3 separate regions of the Homo sapiens genome follow, and regions 1 and 3 are each linked to region 2. The links are contacts of gene promoters, found by promoter capture Hi-C in blood cells and fetal thymus (Javierre and others, 2016). All regions are on one chromosome and are shown on one strand. Each heading gives the region's core, a stretch centred on a gene start or on the middle of the fragment in contact. The rest is flanking DNA. Distances are from core to core; before and after follow the strand shown. Region 1 has its middle 24 kb from the start of CTPS1. Region 2 holds the start of NFYC (nuclear transcription factor Y subunit gamma). Region 3 overlaps CTPS1 (CTP synthase 1).

The links. The method cuts DNA at HindIII sites, captures the fragments that hold promoters and counts their contacts. A CHiCAGO score of 5 or more calls a contact.
Region 1: a contact is called between a fragment that was not itself captured here and the fragment with the promoter of NFYC in region 2, in 1 of 17 cell types (endothelial precursors). The highest score is 5.3, in endothelial precursors.
Region 3: a contact is called between a fragment that was not itself captured here and the fragment with the promoter of NFYC in region 2, in 1 of 17 cell types (erythroblasts). The highest score is 5.1, in erythroblasts.

The regions. Positions count from the first base shown.
Region 1 is chr1:40,953,390-40,957,356 of GRCh38, forward strand. No RefSeq gene overlaps it. Among named protein-coding and RNA genes, the nearest start is that of CTPS1, 24 kb to the right of the region's middle. The HindIII fragment of the contact is 261 bases long and covers 2,202-2,462 here.
Region 2 is chr1:40,690,343-40,694,141 of GRCh38, forward strand. NFYC (nuclear transcription factor Y subunit gamma) reads left to right here and starts at 1,362. Exons shown (of 10, transcript NM_014223.5): 1 at 1,362-1,525. It overlaps NFYC-AS1 (NFYC antisense RNA 1), which reads right to left and starts at 1,919. Exons shown (of 1, transcript NR_024567.1): 1 at 1-1,919. It also overlaps a transcript of RIMS3 not described here. RefSeq lists a silencer at 1,770-1,869 and enhancers at 2,110-2,279, 2,300-2,349. The HindIII fragment of the contact is 4,450 bases long and covers 1-3,733 here.
Region 3 is chr1:41,001,333-41,005,386 of GRCh38, forward strand. CTPS1 (CTP synthase 1) reads left to right here. Exons shown (of 19, transcript NM_001905.4): 11 at 828-922; 12 at 1,782-1,844. Among named protein-coding and RNA genes, the nearest start is that of SLFNL1-AS1, 11 kb to the right of the region's middle. RefSeq lists an enhancer at 2,659-2,808. The HindIII fragment of the contact is 1,538 bases long and covers 1,096-2,633 here.

The DNA of each region.
Region 1 (3,967 bases), core at 1,082-3,581, 260 kb after region 2:
TTTTTTTTTGAGACGGAGTCTCGCTCTGTCGCCCAGGCTGGAGTGCAATGGCGCTATCTCGGCTCACTGCAAGCTCCGCCTCCTGGGTTCATGCCATTCTCCTGCCTCAGCCTCCCCAGCAGCTGGGACTACAGGCACCCACCACCACGCCCGGCTAATTTTTTTTTTTTTTTTGTATTTTTAGTAGAGACGGGGTTTCACCGTGTTAGCCAGGATGGTCTCGATCTCCTGACCTCGTGATCCACCTGCCTCGGCCTCCCAAAGTGCTGGGATTACAGGCGTGAGCCACCGCGCCCAGCCTCTTCTTTTTTTTTTTTTTTTTGATGGAGTTTCAAGCCCAGGCTGGAGTGCAATTGCATGATCTCAGCTCACTGCAACCTCTGCCTCCAGGGTTCAAGCGATTCTCCTGCCTCAGCCTCCCGAGTAGCTGGGATTACAGGCATGTGCCACCATGCCTGGCTAATTTTGTATTTTTAATAGAGACGGGGTTTCTCTATGTTGGTCAGGCTGGTCTCGAACTCCTGACCTCAGGTGATCCGTCTACCTCGGCCTCCCAAAGTGCTGGGATTATACGCATGAGCCACCACACCCGGACAAGGCCTTTCTTCTGGCAGGCATTAATCAATTCCAGTGCAGGGGATACAGAGGAGAATAAAACAAGACGAAGTTCCTGGCCTCTGAGCTTATATTATGGTAGGAGAGAATGACAATAAACAAAATACTGTGTATTAAATACTGTTAAGCCAAGCTGTGCTAAATTGCATAGAGAAATTAAGCAGGGTAAAGGATAGAAGTTGATGGAGTGGTTCTATTTCAGGCAGTGTGGTTAAGAAAATACTCACTGATGGCCGGGCGCAGTGGCTCACACCTGTTATCCCAGCACTCTGGGAGGCCGACGCGGGTGGATCATGAGGTCAAGAGTTCGAGACCAGCCTGGGCAACATGGTGAAACCCTTTCTCTACTAAAAATACACAAATAAGCTGGGCATGGTGGCACACACCTGTAATCCCAGCTACTCAGGAGGCTGAGGCAGGAGAATCACATGAATCCCGGAGGTGGAGGTTGCAGTGAACCAAGATAGGGTCACTGCAATCTAGCCTGGGCGACAAATCGAGACTCGTCTAAAAAAAAAAAGGAAAAAAGAAAATACTCACTGATAAGGTGGCATTTGAGCAAAGACACAAACAAAGTGCAGATGTGAACCGTGCATGTGTCTGGGGGGAGGTATTCCTGCAGCGTGCAAAGTCCCTGTGATAGGAACGTGCTTAGCATGCTCTAGAAACTGCAAGTTGGCTGGTGTTTTAGGTCAGGCGATCTGGAAGCAGACTCTGAGAGGATTCCTGTATAAGTGATTGATTAGTGCTCCCTTAGGGGTAGGGTGGGGAATAACCAGCAAGGGTGTAGGGGAAGCAGGGCAGGGAAGAGGAGGAAGCCAAGCAAGCGTGTGATTTCATGCGAAATCCGGAGGAAGGTAGTCTCACCCTGATCCCACGGGGGTGGGGCGGGGTGGGGTAAGGTAGAGTCGGGTAGGAAGGGGAGCTCTGGCATATAAGTTACACCTCAGTGTTTGTTCCAACCTAAGGCAAGGTTGCTGAGACTTTCAAACTCTCCTCCCATTAACATCTGGCTAGGGTCATCCCAGGGAGCTTTTTCAAGTAAATTCTCAGGCACTTCCTCTGGGCAAAGTGGGCTCCAGTAGCGCCCTATCCAAAGAGCCATAGGTACTAGGTACTAGGTGTTGGGTACTAAGTACTAAATGTTAAGAGAAAAAGCTTAGCAAAGTTGGGGGCACACACAACATGAAGGAAAAGGGGATCTTAAAAGGATCTGGGTAAAATGCTAACAGTACCTGTGAAAGTCAGTGAGGTAGAAGAACAGAAGTCAGAGTAGAATCGTAAGAGAAGAGATAGTCAGCTGAGGCCAGATCAGGTAAATCAATATCTGATTTCACTCAAATAGGCAATGTGCTGAGCTAAAAAATCCACAGCTCTCCTTGCATCTAGGGGCGGCCAGTTCCACATACTCAAATGTCGATAAAAGTCAGCTGGAGGCACCTAAGAAAGCATTCATTTCCTGATAGAGGCACCACATTTTCTTCCTTGCCACTCCCTTCTTTTTGCCTGGAATGTGAACCCGAGGCTGGGGGTAAAGCAGTCATCTTGTAACCATGAGGTCACAGTGAGGCAAATGTGAGAGTAAAAGCTTTGTACTAAGCATGGTGGAGGGGCCTGAGACCCTGGTGATGTTGCAGAGAGGCTGCACTAGCCTGGGACGCCTGTCTCTAGACTTAATATCTTTTTTTGAAAGTTAACAAATCCCTATTCGATGAAGTCTGGCTTTCTGTTACATGCCAGTGGGCATCATCCCTAACCAATACTTCCTCCAAAGAGTTATAGATCTACACAGCCTCCTACATTCTGTGAGAGCACTTGTTCCCACTCAAATGCGCTGGACGTTATAAAGCTTTTTCCAGTTTGCCAATCTTCCACGTGACAAATCCTATCTTGTTTTCTTTCGGTTTTTGTTGTTTTGAGACGGCGTCTCACTCTGTTGCCCCGGCTGGAGTGCAATGGCGCGATCTCGGCTCACTGCAACCTCCGCCTCCCGGGTTCAAGCCATTCTCCTGCCTCAGCCTCTCAAATAGCTGGGATTACAGGCGCGCGCCACCACGCCCGGCTAATTGTTGTATTTTCAGTAGAGACGGGGTTTCACCATGTTGGTCAGGCTGGTCTCAAACTCCTGACCTCAGGTGTCACCACCCGCCTCGGCCTCCCAAAGTGCTGGGATTACAGGCATAAGCCACCACACCCGGCCTATCTTGTTTTATTGTGAATATGAGTTATGAGTGAGGTTGAGTATTTTTATATGTTTTTTGTGCATTTGTGTTTACGTGAAACTACATGTTTCTGTGCCTTGCCCACTTCCATTTGAAGGCCAAAAAAAAAAAAAAAAAAAAATCACAGCGGGCACTGGCATCTTAAGGGTTCTGAGAATTCCTGCAGCATGCAATGTGCATTTTAACTTTAGCATGGAATTCTCCAAAATTATTTGACCACATAACATATTTTGTCTTGGAAACCCTATTTCTATTAGTTAGGACTGAGCTTTCTAACTGGCATGCCATAAATGAGCCACAAGCATGTTGACCTATTCAACTACTCAAAATTTGACAAGAGCCAAAACATATTTGAACACTGTTAGATAGCTTCCTCTATGAACTTCCTGAATTAGGTAATAATTATTTTGGTGGTTAAGATTTTATTCAAAGCACTTGCCGCCAGAAAGACTTTGTCATGGCCACATTGTCCCACACTCCACAGAATAGTCTGACTATGATCCTAGTCATGATTTGTTTATCTGTTTATCAGCTGCAACTGATAAATTCTTCTTTATTTTGCAAGTACATATAAAATATTGGCTTTTCTTTAACTTAATAATTTTCTCTTATTTTTCTAACATAAAAGTATGGATATTATTATTTAATGTTATGTGTTTCCCTATAGAAAATGAGTTATTTTGGGCAGGGCATGGTGGTGCACGCCTGTAATCCCAGCACTTTGGGAGGCCGAGGCAGGCAAATCACGAGGTCAGGTGTTTGAGACCAGCCTGCCCAACACGGTGAAACCACATCTCTACTAAAAATACAAATATTAGCAGGGCATGGTAGCACACACATGTAGTCCCAGCTACTTAGGAGGCTGAGGCAGGAAAATTGCTTGAACCCAGGAGGTGGAGGTTGCAGTGAGCCAAGATCACACCACTGCACTCCAGCCTGGGCAACAGAGCAAGACTCTGTCTCAAAAAAAAAAAAAGAAAGAAAGAAAAGAAAATGAGTTATGTTGTTAATTTTCTCAATTGCTGTTTCTTGATTGGGGGAGTGTCTGTTCATTTTTAATGTTAACAATGAATACAGTTTGTTTTTTATTTTTTTATTTTTTTTGAGATGGAGTCTGGCTCTGTCACCCA
Region 2 (3,799 bases), core at 112-2,611:
TCTGAAAATGTCATTATAAGTAACTTTTTTTTTTTCTGAGACAGGGCCTCGCACTGTCGCCCATGCTAGAGTGCAGCGAGACACTCGTAGCTCTTACCAGTAACTTCTTTATAACACTTTTGCAATTTACGAAGCACTCTCACATTATTTCATTCACTCTCCCCAACATTACCAAAAGTTAGGAATTAGATCTTTTTACAGATGAAGGAATTGAGACTCCCTGAAGTCAAGTGTCTTATAGTTAGGTTTTGTTCATTCATTCATCAAATAGAGTGCCTGATGTGAGATTTATTGAAACTGGATTTGAAAACAATTTTCCTGAATTCAAGTCGAGGGTTTACTCCACTATTCTCAATTACTTTATCACCAGGGTTATAAACCCAAAGGAAGTGAGTAACAACAGTGTGATTTTATTGAGGACCCATGCAACACTAGTCTCAGAAAGGCTCCAGTGTCATTTGTAAAATTCAAGGTTACCATCAGCAGAGGCAGTCATTCCTCTCTGCGCTTGTTACCTAATGCACTAACTCTCACTGTAGGTAATTCCATTCAAGACACATTTGATGACTATACCTACAGGTTTTGAAGTTATTCGGATGGGGTTTTGACACTTACTAGCTGTGGGGACTTAGATCAAGTTACTTAACCTTTTTGAGCTTCAGTTTTATCATTTGTAAAATGGATACAATCCTGATGCCTTTGGACCAAGTGGTCACGGAAATGAAAGAGATAAGTATGAAAAAATCCATGCTCATAGTAGCTGTGGTTTCCAACTGCGTGATAAAACTTTAAAATCTGCATTCAAATAAGAACAACTATGTCGACGTAAGGTTACAAGCTAACTATTCTTGGTAAGTACTGTTCTTTATTCTAGAGGACATCACTTTACAGTTTGGTGCTAAATGCTCTTTTATGAATTTAAGGTGCCAGTAGCTGTCTACTTGAACGGCATGCTTAATCTGGAACGCCATGTCGACCTTCATCCCCCAGTTCTTTCTCCCCAAATTAAAAACACAAATACACACACACGCCCCTACTTAGTTCCTAAAACTCAAGGGCACGCGCACACACCTACTTATTTCCTAAAATTCAAGCTCGCACCAAGGAGATCCACAAGGATAGGCAGGGTGGTGGAGGTCACTGGGCAGCGCCTCCGGATCCCCCGAAAGGGGGCGGGGTCAAAACTCAGATCTCGAGCTCCCGAAAGGGGGCGGGGTTAAAACTCTCAGATCTCATTCCGCCTCCCTCTGTCGTCGCCCCTTCCCAATTCTCGCGAGACCTCAAGGAGCACAGCTTCTGCGCACCGCACGATACTGGGAGTCCAGGCGCCAAGGGAGGGGGAAGGGAAAAGGGGAAACGGTGCAAACGGCGTGGCCGCCATCTTGCTTGTGCCCCCGCTTCGCGCGCGCTCCGTTCTCCGTGACGCACACTTCCCCCTCCCCTCCGCCGCGCCTGGGCCTCTGCATTGCCCGACTCCGTAGGAGCGCGGGGGCGGCTCCTGCTCTTCCTGGACTCCTGAGCAGAGGTGTGTGAGTGTGCGGGAGTTTCTGTGCGAGGGTGATAGGGAAGCGGCGGCGGGGGGAGGGGCAGCGCTTCCCGCCTTCGCCAGAGACCTCACTTCCTCGCGCGGCCGCTGCTGTAGCTCGGTCCGTCCTGCCCGCCGCCATGTTGTGCTCTTGCCTGGCCCGCTGCTGTCGCCGCCGCCGCGCTCGTGGGGTCCGTGTGCCTCGTCGGCCCGGCCCGCGGGCTTTCTCCCATTGGCGGAAGGCGACGGCGGGGGGGCTCGCTCGTGATTGGTCGGTGGCGGGGAGGCCGCGGACCTGGCACCTTATTGGACGCGCCAGCTCCGGTCTAGGGGGTGATGAAGGAATCTGAGGCTGCGGGGATGCGCGCGTCTTGGGCTAGGGCGGCTGGGGCAATGACCCCCTGCGGCGCAGGCGTGGGGTTGCGGCGAGAGGGCGAGCCTAGAGGCTTTAAGGGGGAAGAGAGGGTGATGGCCTGGCAGGTACTTTGGGGGTAGCTTAGGCCATGGCCTGGGAATGGGGGACACTCACTTTCAGAGGTGCTTTTCCTGGTACATGCATGGCCCAAGATTGGGGTGTGCAGGCCCTCAGGGTTCCAGGCTTGGAAACACCGAAACCCAAGTGACAGGCTGAGAGTCTTCGAGATCCAGGGTTGCTAATGTGACCCAGTTTGGAAGTGGCCCTGAAGTCCACGGTGTGAGTGTATGGTGTAGGAAGAAAGGCATCAGGGCTAGGGGCATAGCTGAACGGTAGAATCGGATCAGGGATTTTGCTGGAGAGTGCAAGCATTCAAACACTGAGGTTTTGGTGGAGCCCTGGAGTCCAGAGTCAACGGACCTGGGATGTGATGTGAGGAGCAAGTAAACCGAGAGAGGAATGCTATTGAGAAGTGTGCTCTGTCCGAGCCTAGGAAGCACAGCATTAAGTAGTATCAGATTTAAAGTGACAAAATCTGATATAGGAAGCATTTTAGGGGACATTTTCGGACTTGGGAAGTGTATTAATAGAACAGTTATACATTATTGAGTCTCAGGACCATACAAGTAGTTTTGAGATGTTGTATATGAAATTTGCTGCTCTAGGAAGGATACAGGTCATGGCTGAGTTTCCAAAGCCACATTAGCAAATATTAGGTAGTTGGTAGTTATTTGTTGAGTAAATATTGTTAGGTTCCCCTTTAAGGGAAAGGGAGCTAGCCAGAAATTTTCGGTCTTGGTTTATTTCCTTGTATATGTGCCTAAAAAGTATACCCATTCCCATGTGTACTTTGAATTTTTTGTTTGTTTTTTCAAATAAGCAGCTCCAAACCAAAAAAAAGCCCATGCATAGCTTCTTAAGGAACAGGACTTGTCAACACTTTCTGGTTCATATTCAAAAAGTTTTTATTCCAATCCAGAGTCGTTCCAGTCAACTTGTTGGGAATATGTTCTTTTCCACTGAATCTGAATCGTAGTTACTTGTATTGCTTTACATTTGCTCGTCCCAGTGTGTGAGGGCCATGGAAACACATTTATGTTAAACATCTGTGTTTTCCTAATTTGTTTTTCCTTGTTTTTGTTAGGTAGTCCTTTTTAGCTTTAGATGGTACTCTTCTGTTTTCATACCAATTTCAAGAAACTCCTAGGGTTTTCAAATTTAGTTTTATGTGAATGCAACTACATTTTCTGGAGAAGGGAATTGATAAGTAGCAGAGGAAGAGAATTGCTATTTTGGGGCATATTTTAACTCCAATAGGTAGGCATTATCGTCCCCATATTGCAGATGAGGAAACTGAGGATCAGAGAGTTTAAGTAGCTTGTCTGGTGTCACTCAGTAAGTGGTTGAGCTAGAATTCAAACCCTGGTTGCCTGATGCCAAAGCCTGTAATTTTATCTGCTACATCAGCTATCAACATAAACCTGACTAATGAAACTTCCAGATAATTTTGTATTTCCAAGTGGATCATCTACTTTGATTTCTGGGTGTTTAGAGTGTATAAAATGGAAGACTATAATTCTTAAGAATTTCTTGTGCTGCTTAAGGATTCAGACCACAGAATTGTAACCATAGAGAATATGGGTTCTTCAGCTAGGTATTCAAATCATATCCCTTGGCTTCTATTGTGAAAGGGAAGATTTACCAAGTAAATTGCTGCATTTTTTCCTGAATCCAGGTAGATAATGGGGAAAAATATGTACAGAAACTTGAAGAATCTGCATTCCTTAAAACCAAGCTTCAGAATATTGCAGATAGTCTTTCTGTATGTGGAGGTAATTTATGCCAAATGGCGAGGAACT
Region 3 (4,054 bases), core at 615-3,114, 310 kb after region 2:
CCATATGCATCTATTGATGAGGCTCATTTAAGGATTTTTCATCCAGAACATTTGATGAGTACCCATCAGTAGAGTCTCATCAGTTGTTTTGGCAGCTGTTATTTATAATAGTAAAACATTAGCAAGAATTTCTGGTTCACTAGAACAGTTGAATATTACGGAGGTGTACACCTTCTTCTGAGTGTCTTGGTCAGTACGGCACACAGAGCTGATGAAGAAAGGCCCCCTTAGGGGAGCATTTTAAGCCAAGAGGTAAGATAAATTGTTAATATTAATATATGTATTTAAAATTTTGGGCTGGGCACAGTGGCTCATGCCTGTAATCCTAAAACTTTGAGAGGCTGAGGTGGGAGGATTGCTTGAGCCCAAGAGTTCAAGACCAGCCCAGGCAACATAGGGAGACCCTGTTTCTACAACAAAAACAACAAAACCAGCTGGGTGTGGTCCCAGCTCCTTGGGAGATCAAGGCTGCAGTGAGCTGTGATCACACCACTGCACTCCAGCCTGGGTAACAGTGTGAGACCCTGTCTCAAGAAAAAAAAATTGTGAACAACTCAGTACCAAAGATAGTGCAGTGGCAGTATTACAATTATGTATACTATCTTTTTCACTTGCAATAAGCATGTTCTTAAGTTACTAAGAAAAGTCCATAGTTTCATATGCAGTTTCTAAGTTGATAGTGTTTACATACAATTCATTGTCACAGTAGCACAATGTATGGGGTTAATTCATGGCTTCAGTGTCTTGGTAATGGCCCGTTAGGCGATTATTGCAAGTTGGACTGGTAGAAAAGGGGAATTGCCTTTGTGGTTTGTTCTTTTGTGCAGTGGAGTGCTGGTTCCAGGAGGATTTGGTGTTCGAGGAACAGAAGGAAAAATCCAAGCAATTGCCTGGGCTCGGAATCAGAAAAAGCCTTTTTTGGGTAAGGAGCTCTGCAGTGCAGTCTTCACTTAAGAGTAGGAAAGAGTGGGGAACGGTGCCACGTGGGAGCCTATGAACAAAGTGGGGGGATTACTGAAACATGCTGTCTTTGTGGATAGGAGCTCAAGTAGAAGCCTTCATGTTTTCTCTTTAGAGACAAATTCAGTCTTGGAAAGCTTATTTATGCTTATGAGCTACATGTAGATGTCGTGGAATTTTGAGAGAATGAATTGTGAATTCCTGTCCATTTAATGAACCCAGCTGTTTGTAGCACACGTGAGGTTGAGTTTTATATCTGCTCACTTGGCACAACAGCTGACTGTAATTGGACAAAATGATTTTGCATGCCTCCTGGTGCTGTACATTTTAGTAATTTTCAACTTGAACAATTATAAATAAAAACTTAATGAGAGAGGGTAAGAAAACTTGAATTTTAAAGTACTGAGGCTAGGCACGGTGGTTCACACCTGTAAACCCAACACTTGTGGAGGCTGAGGCAGGAGGGTTGCTGGATCCCAGAAATTTGAGGCTGTAGTGAGCCAAGATCTCTCCACTGCACTCCAGAGTGGGCAACAGCAAGACCCTGTCTGGGGGGAAAAAAGTACTGAATAGAATATCACTTACTTCTAAAATCGGATAACTTTGCAAATCTAGAATTTTCATCTACTTTACATGCAGTTTTTGAAATCTAATACAAGTAAAGTGTAACAGCAGAGAGTACTTGTTCATAGCAGGAAGTTATGAGTTTGCAATTATAATTCTCCAAATAAAGGACACAAAGGCCATTGCAGAGGCTGCTGGGAAAAGTAGGAGCTGCCTTTTCAATGGAGTTTTGTTTGTTTTTTCCCCCCGACTGGAAGGCGTGTGCTTAGGGATGCAGTTGGCAGTGGTTGAATTCTCAAGAAACGTGCTGGGATGGCAAGGTAAGCGTGCATTAAGACACTCATTCAATTCCCGCTTGTGTATTTCTGGAGGATATGAGGCCTGTTGCCGCCTGGGTGATCAGGAGCTTTGGAGAAGGGCAGGCCTGGGTTCCTAGCACCTCATGGTGTGCCGTAAGGGAGCTGCCTTGCCTCTTGAGGAACAGCACGGCTCCTCCATGCAGGAAGGAGGGAGCACAGCCAGACTCCCTCCTTTGCCTTCTGCCTCTGTGTTCCTGTTCTTGAGATTCTGTCACTTTGATCACCGTGGCCACCATCCTGAAGCTGGTGCCTGGTGTGAAGTCCTTGTCCTAAGTGAGGCTTGGGCAGTTATTATGAGAACCTGGGCTCTGGAGCTATTGAAACTGGGCTCAGATTCCAACCTTACCGCTTATGGGTGATTTTAAGCAATTTACTTAGCCTTTATGGGCCTCCGTTTTTTCTGTAAAATGGGAGTAATAAAGGTACGTACTTCACATGATTAAGGGAGATAATGTATGTAAATAGTCTCTAGTAGTGCCTGGAAAATAGGGAAATGCTCAGATAATATCAGCTCTTCGCCTAGCTGTGTATTACTATGTGACAGACCTCCCTAAAGCTCAGTGGCTCCCAACAGCAGTGACTTCTCATCTCAGTATTCTGTGGTTTGGCTCAGTGCCTGGGTTTCAGCTGCACGTGGTGTACTATCTGAGATGGCACACTCCTGCCTTGTGTTCAGCTGTGAGCTCGGCCCAGCCGGGACGTCAAGATGCTGTCTCCACCTAGTGGCTCATCATTCATTAATCCAGCCCAAGCTTCCTCACACAGGGTGGGCAGCTGGACTCCAAAATGACAGGCCTGTTATGCAGGCACTTATCAGGCCTGCTGATGTCCCGTTGGCCAAAACAAGTCACGTGGCCAAGCCCCGAGCCGGCAGGGGAGGAGAACACACATGGGTGTGAAGACTGAGCATGCTGCACTGGGGCCACCCTGGAATGGTCCACCACAGCCCATTTATTCTCTGTAGCCCACCCGACAAATACTAGATTTTCAGAAAGACCTTGTAAATTCTGTGGAAAATAAAGTAACCTGAAGGAATGTAAAAGCAGTTTGACTTTATAAAGAACAAGTGACTCTGGTGGCCAGCATATGGTTTAGGGCTGGGTTTCATTCACCCTTTCCCTGAGAGGCTGCTTCACAGTGACCTGGCGGTGTGGCTTAGTTTGGTAGACAGCATGCCCTTGAGTGCTGGCTTCTGAGTCCTGAGAGGCACTGTCTTATCACCCGCCACCCCAGAGCTGGCTTTCTGGTCTCCCTGGATCCTTCACAGCCCCAGACCTCTGCCTCTCACTTAGGTTCCCAAATGGGTAGGTGCTTTGGTGATGAGCTTACACTTCAGTTGAGACTGGACCCTGGTTCAGGCCAGGAGGAGAACAGTGCCCAGCGTTCACATAGTACCAGGAACTTGGTCCTTTGCCTTTTGGTCTTTAGTGGTTTTGCTTTGGTTAGACGGTAAGTTCAATGAAGGTTAGAAAGGTTGAGTTGAAATCAGTTCATTTCTGACTGAGCTATTGAGTGAAACAGTTGAGTAGGGCTTTGTATTAGCTGCTGAAGATGAAAGAAGTATAGAAGAAATAGTACTTGTTTATCTCAGAGAGACAAGAGTCTGAAACATTAAGACAATATAAAAACTTGGCTGGGCATGGTGGTTCAGGCCTGTAATCCCAGCACTTTGGGAGGCTGAGTTGGGTTAATCACTTGAGGCCAGGAGGTCGAGACCAGCCTGGCCAACATGGAAAAACCCCATCTCTACTAAAAATACAAAAAATAACCAGGTGTGGTGGTGTGCGCCTGTAATCCCAGCTACTTGGGAGGCCAAGACATGAGAATCACTTGAATTCTGGAGGTGTAGGTTGCAGTGAGCCAAGATTGTGCCACTGCACTCCATTCTGGGTGACATAGTGAGACTCTTGTCTTAAAACACAAACAAACAATATAAGAACTGTCACAGGCGGGGCGCAGTGGCTCACGCCTGTAATCCCAGCACTTTGGGAGGCCGAGGCAGGCAGATCACCTGAGGTCAGGAGTTCGAGACCAGCCTGACCAACATGGAGAAACCCCGTCTCTACTAAAAATACAAAGTTAGCTGGGCATGGTGGTGTATACCTGTAATCCCAGCTACTCGGGAGGCTGAGACAGGAGAATCGCTTGAGACCTGGAGGTGGAGGTTTTGG